2 separate regions of the Homo sapiens genome follow, and region 1 is linked to region 2. Evidence: promoter capture Hi-C in human tissues and cell types (Jung and others, 2019). All regions are on one chromosome and are shown on one strand. The core of a region is centred on a gene start or on the middle of the fragment in contact, and the rest is flanking DNA. Distances in the headings are between cores, read along the strand shown. Region 1 has its middle 190 kb from the start of FAR2. Region 2 holds the start of KLHL42 (kelch like family member 42).

What was found. The method cuts DNA at HindIII sites, captures the fragments that hold promoters and counts their contacts. A contact is called where the count stands out against the background at its distance.
Region 1: a contact is called between a fragment that was not itself captured here and the fragment with the promoter of KLHL42 in region 2, in 1 of the 25 tissues and cell types used here (dorsolateral prefrontal cortex).

What each region holds. Positions count from the first base shown.
Region 1 is chr12:28,959,576-28,962,579 of GRCh38, reverse strand. No RefSeq gene overlaps it. Among named protein-coding and RNA genes, the nearest start is that of FAR2, 190 kb to the left of the region's middle. The HindIII fragment of the contact is 4,562 bases long and covers 1-3,004 here.
Region 2 is chr12:27,778,845-27,782,043 of GRCh38, reverse strand. KLHL42 (kelch like family member 42) reads right to left here and starts at 1,811. Exons shown (of 3, transcript NM_020782.2): 1 at 842-1,811. The coding sequence starts at 1,713. MANSC4 (MANSC domain containing 4) reads left to right here and starts at 1,808. Exons shown (of 4, transcript NM_001146221.5): 1 at 1,808-1,834. RefSeq lists an enhancer at 1,295-1,794 and silencers at 1,660-1,969, 1,990-2,209. The HindIII fragment of the contact is 9,315 bases long and covers 1-3,199 here.

The DNA of each region.
Region 1 (3,004 bases), core at 231-2,730, 1.2 Mb before region 2:
TGATGGTCTCATGTTCCTCTTGAGAGTGGTTTACGGTAAAACTCAAAATCTATATTTCTCAAAGTTTTAGGAGCAGAAACTATCTAAATTCAAAGAGATTCATTATACGTTTATTTCTAATATAGTGCATGTTCAAATTTTGTAGGTCAGGCATAGAGCATGTTATTCTTTTCTTTAGCCCTCCCAATATTGGTTATTTTGGCTGTTTTTGGTCAGATAGGATCCCCTGAGCAAGTTTACTCAGTATGCAAATATCCATTGTAACAACATTTCCGTTATTCTGTAATCAGCCTTTTTTTCTCCCTCTGGGTATTGAGTTCATTGACCTCAAAGGTAACTAGTTTCAGAAGATTTAAGACAGAAAAATTTCCATTAAGTTTTTGGGTTCTTGCCCACATGCTGTACAGCAGGAAAAGGAAAGCAATATAATCCAACTTCAGAGCCTGGAAACACTGGACTGAACTTGCCCCTACCACACAGCATTGGGATGGCATGAATGGGATCATTTAAAGATTTGGCAGTCAAACTGGAGGTCTTAATGTCACCATGACTCAAGTTTAGGAAGAGATAAAAGAGGTTTTAGTAAAGGAAAAAGACAATGAAACAAAACAGTGTGTGTCATCTCTCTTTTGACCAATAAATCAGTTTTTTTCCTACTGTTACCGTGAAGTCTATCTTCTGGCCGATACATAGTAATATCTGACTCTCATTTTGGCAAAGTAAGTAAGCAGATTTCCCCCTTCTTTTGTTTTCAGATATGTTAGAAAAGCCAAGAAATTTCAAAAGAAATAGTGGTCTCCCTCCTTATGACGGACAAAGAAAAGAGTAAATTACAGCCCAGGGCTTTCTGATCTCCTCAGCAAACAATATTAGAGAGACAAAAGTACATTTCTCAAAGAAGTACAAACCTCAATCCCTCTATCTGTATTATGAGAAGTGCTTTTAAAATAAACTCTTATTACCATCTAGAATGTATAGTTATTTGAAAAAAAATCATCTTTAAGACACATTCACAAATAAAAAAGATAAAATCTAACTTGCAAACATACAATGTATATGCATGATAAACTTGTAAATATAATTTATCCCAAATGAGAAAGATCATCATGATACAAAGATTTTTCAAGTTATTTCATATTGTAATATTTCATCATGATATAGATTTATATAATTACCCACATCTTCCTCCACTCTCTTCCTCTGTGTATAGGGGATGGAGAGAAGAAATAAGGACTAATAAACTCTAAATGTTAAAGACTTATTTATTTATGTTTTTAATTTTTAATTTTTGTGGGTACATAGTAAGTGTATATATTATAAGGTACATGAGATGTTTTGATACAGGCATGCAATGTGAAATAAGCACATCATGGAGAATGGGGTATCCATCCCCTCAAGTATTTATCCATTGAGTTGCAAACAATCCAATTACACTATTTAAGTTACTTTAAAATGTATAATTATTATTGACTACAGTTACCCTGTTGTGCTATCAAATAATTATTTTATTTTTTAAAAAAGTTATTTCAAAAGATTCTTATTTATTGAAGTTCTTAGGTTTATTAAAAGGCTACATATATCAGTTTGATTAATGACTAGAAGAAATGTATTACAGCATCTGGGGTGTGGGGATAGAACAGTAGAAAAGGCGATAACAAATGCAAAATACTTTTGTACAATAATCAAAAGCTGGGAGACTAATAAGCTACCTCTATCATGTATCTATCCTTTAGGCCATTGTTCTGCCCAAGTACATAGTTTACTCTTGGCAACAACATAACACACTACTAATTTTTCCTGGTTTGTCCTACTCTGGCTCCACTATACCAGACTAATTTCATTTTGTCTTCTGGTTGGCCCATATGTTCATTCTTACAGATTTATCTTTCCAACGTCTTTGCATAAGTCATGCCTTTCCTCCTCCAGTGGGCTTCACTGATGTTACTCACAACCAACCTGGAACACCCCTCCTTCAACCTTCTATCTTAGCTTTACAGATATTTAAACATTCAACCCAAGTTTCTTCTTGAAAGCTTCTTCAGTTTTTATACCACTTGGATTACCTAATTTTTATTGAATTTCAAAGTGTCTGGATTGCACAATTTGTTCCTTAGCTATTTTCTAATTCTTTCAAAGTGTGTTAGCTAGTTTGACTTCTAGGCTATACTATTAAATTGCCAAAATAAGAAAATATGCCTCGAATTTCTACTGTAATTAACATGGCTCTTTGTAGTTCTGTACTAAATTTGATGTTGCATAAATGTTGGAAGGTAATTGACTTAACTTCACCTATCTGAGAAAGATGCATGTAAAATCTCCAAACTATTTCAGACATCTTCATGAAATGGTCTTATTGCATCAGAACAGAAGGAATAATATTAAATGGTTGGGGTGGGCTGGGGGTAAATGAACCTAGAGAGGAAGGGATAGAGAGCATATACTATACCTCATCTTATTTAATCTTTCCTCTGAATCTGGTATTATAGCCACCATTTTAAGGATGAAGAAACTGACATTCAGACAGGTTATATAGCTTGCTCGAGTTTATAAGGCAAGCAAGGGGCAGAAGCAAGATTTGAACCACAGTTTTTTGACTCAAAGCCCAGGTTCTTTCTATCACCTCTATAAACAGCTTCCTCAATAGGGTGTCATAATATAGACCTTTAAGGAAATATGCATCAATTATATAATTAAAACTGAAATAATTTGGAAAGAAAATACAAGGTATTTCTTTCCATCTATATTAAGCCCAAGGGAATATTGAGAGAGTGTAAAAAGTCAAAGAAAGCTTTATGTATAGATGGGAGCTTGATCTAGAATTTATAAAGTTAGAGGAGGGAAAGGAAATAGGAAGAATAAGTGAGGAAGGGAAATGTTGGTATATGTGGAGATGATAGAATGGAAGATAGAATCTAAGGTGAAGAACAGAGTTTGAAGTTGGTGTATCAGTCAGTTTTGCTACAATGTTGCTGTGTACCAAACAAGCCCTAGATCTTAGCGGCTT
Region 2 (3,199 bases), core at 562-3,061:
GACGCTGAGGCCTCCTAGGCGCTACCATCTTTATTTCCTACCATCTCTTCCTGTATATGCTCTTTGCTCTTGTTTTGATATTCCTTCCCTGGTTCCTTTCCCTTCTCCCCTCTCATCCCACTCCTCAAGCTCCTCCTCTTCCTTTCTTCAAGTCACCCTTGTTGGAGGCAGGAGAGATTTGCAGGATGGGAGGGGGAGAAGGTTGCGTAAATGAAAATATTCCAATTCTGTAGTTGAACACTTCCAGGCTCAAGCTGTGGGTCATGACGATGGCTGTCCAGGGAAGGAAGCAAAAGAGAGGATAAAAAATAAGAAAAGCAACCCCTATTGCAAACGTTAATACATTTCCAGTGATTATCTCTTGATCATGATGGGTATCACAGTGTGGAAGACTCTGTTGTCACAGTCACTGACATCAGAAAAAAATCCCCCAAAGTCAGTGTTACAGGTTACTGTCCAGTGTATCATTATCATCAGGATCAAATCCTAAAAACTAAGACAAATTTTTTAAAAATTAAGGGGCAATTTTCTTTTAAAGTATTCTTGTAGGAAACCACAACATCTTTTTTCACAAGAACAGAGGCAAAGAAAGCAGTTTCACCTAAAGGCACAATACCTGCCAAAAAACCACTCCACTTCTTGACCTCACTGGGGACGTCCTCTTCGCAATTTCTTAGTTCATTGGGAATTTTGCCAGCGCCAAGGCCAACAACATTCCTGAAGATGTCATTTCCACCACAGCACACCCTCCCCTATTTACTGGCTCAGTAAACACTGGGGTAATGAACTAATGAACAAGTGAATGAATGAGAAGGCAGCAGCACTCTGCCGGGGTGCTTACCTCTTCTGGTTCATGGAGGCCACCTGGAGCCACTCGTTGGTGCTGGGGTTGTAGGAATGCGCAGCGGAGATCTCCTGGCTAGTGATCCTGTACCCGCCCACTATGAAGAGGTAGTTGTCCAGGATGGCAGACCCATAGCCCCTGACATTGACCAGGTCGGGAGGAAGGTTGTTGGCCAGCGGGAACCAACGCTCAGTCATCTCCTCGTACCTGAGCATGGACGGGGGCTCCCCCTGGTAGGGGTGAGGGGCCAGGGGTCCCCCCAGGAAGTCCCCGAGGGCCACGAGGACAGGAGTCCCAGTCATCCGGGCCTCCCTCAGCCTCTGCTTCAGGCTGACATCCCCTGGAGCTTGGGGAGGAGACCCCAGGAGGTGGAACTGGGGCTTGCACAGCACCTCGTGGAAGTGGACGACCATGAAGCGCAGGCAGGCCTCCTGCAGGTCGGGCAGCCCGTACACCTGCGCCAGGCGGTACATCTCCAGGCAGTTATTGAGCCGCACCTGGGACAGCAGCAGCTGCAGCAGGGACGTGACCTGCAGGAAGGAGGCCGCCTCCACCAGCTCGGACAGCAGGCTCACCTCATCCATCTCCTCGTCCTCGTCCACCCCGCCGCCCTTTTCCCCGCGCGGGCCCAGGAGCCAGCCTTCGCGGGCCCCGCCGGCGTTGATGAAGTCCAGCACCAGCCGCAGGCCCGGCGCGCTGAGGCCGCGCAGCTGCTGCACCTCCGGGCCGCCGGCCTCCTGGCTCAGGGCCTCGCGCATGCCGGAGCGGTAGAGGGCGCGGAAGTAGTCGCTCTGCTCGATGAGCTTCCTCTTGCTCACCGGGTAGCAGCGGTCCTCCAGGCGGATCTGCACCATCTCCTCGGCCGACATGGCTGGGGGCCCCGGGGCGGCAGCGCTCACCGCCAGATCTGCGCGCCGGCCTCCCAGCCCCTACGCGCGCGCCGGTTCCGGGCGGGGCGCCGAGGGATGGCGGCCCGGGAGGAGCGGCGAGGTGAGGGCCGCCCGCGCTCGCCCGGCCTCTCCGGCGGCCCCTCCTCCCGGGGCCCGCTCCCGCGAGGCGGCGGCCCTGCCCTTCTCCTTTCCCTCAGCGCCAAAAAAGGGCCGGCGGAGCGCGGCGGGCGTCCTCGCGCGGGCTCTCCCGGGCGGCGCCAGGCGGGAAGGGAATTCCAGCTCCCAGCCAGCAGCCTCCTCCCCCGCCGCCCTTCTCACTTCCGCCCGCGGGACCCCAGCCGCCGGCCTGACCTGCCGGCTGGATCCGGCTCTCGGGGAGGCCCGGGAAGCTGCGGGCCCGGGCGCCTCGGCTGCGGACGCGCAGCTGCGGGAGGCGGAGGGCGCGCGTCCCCGCAGCCTCTCCGCCCGCCCGGGGCGCGCCGGCTCCGCCGCTTGTTGGGGGCTGCAGTGATGCTCCGGGGTACCCCAGGGAGAAGAAATTCGTTTTCTCTCCCACGCTGCTTTACACGGGCTAAAGAAAAAGAAATGAGCGTGGGAGGAAAGGGAAGGATGGAGTCTCTGGTCCAGGGAGACAAAAAGGCATCAAATATGGGGTCGTCCTTCTGGCCCAGTCCGGCATCGAGTGTCAGTGGGCTGAGGCACGCAGGCGATCTATGGACAGTTGGTGGCAATGTTGGTGGCACGTAGAGCTGATTCTCTGGTAGCGTGGTCGCGTAGGAGCCATCTTACAGGAGGTCCAGGCAGATGGCAGCAGGTTCTCAGAGGAATCGGGTTGGGAGGCAGGGGAGCTTGCATTTGCCACTGGGGCCCCTTATTCTCCCTAAGTTATTAAAAGAAAGATGAAAGCGCAGCCCGACTAAATAAAGTTACATCACGTGGCTTCTGGTTTTAAACCATGTTTTCTATGAGCCATTGCTTTTCTACTTCAGTCCAGTCCATTACGGAATGTTATCCTGGCGCAAAAGATCTGACAAAATTGGCTCATAAATGTCTGCAAGAAGTAGCTTTTCTTGTCACCCCCTTTCTCCACCTACCCTGCCCCCATCATCTGAGGACTATTAAGAGAGACCACACGTGCGGTTTGGCTGAGCGCGGTGGCTCACGCCTGTAATCCCATGACTTTGGGAAGCCCAGGTGGGCAGATCACGAGGTCAGGAGTTCGAGAGCACCATGGCCAACATGGTGAAACCCCGTCTCTACTAAAAATACAAAAATTAGCCGGGCGTGGTGGCACGCGCCTGTGATCCCAGCTACTCGGGAGGCTGAGGCAGGAGAATTGCTGGAACCCGGGAGGCGGAGGTTGCAGTGAGCCGAGATCGCGCCACTGCACTCCAGCCTGGGCGACAGAGCGAGACGCCGTCTCGGAAAAGAGAGACCACTTGTTTCCTATGTTCTCTCACTGAAC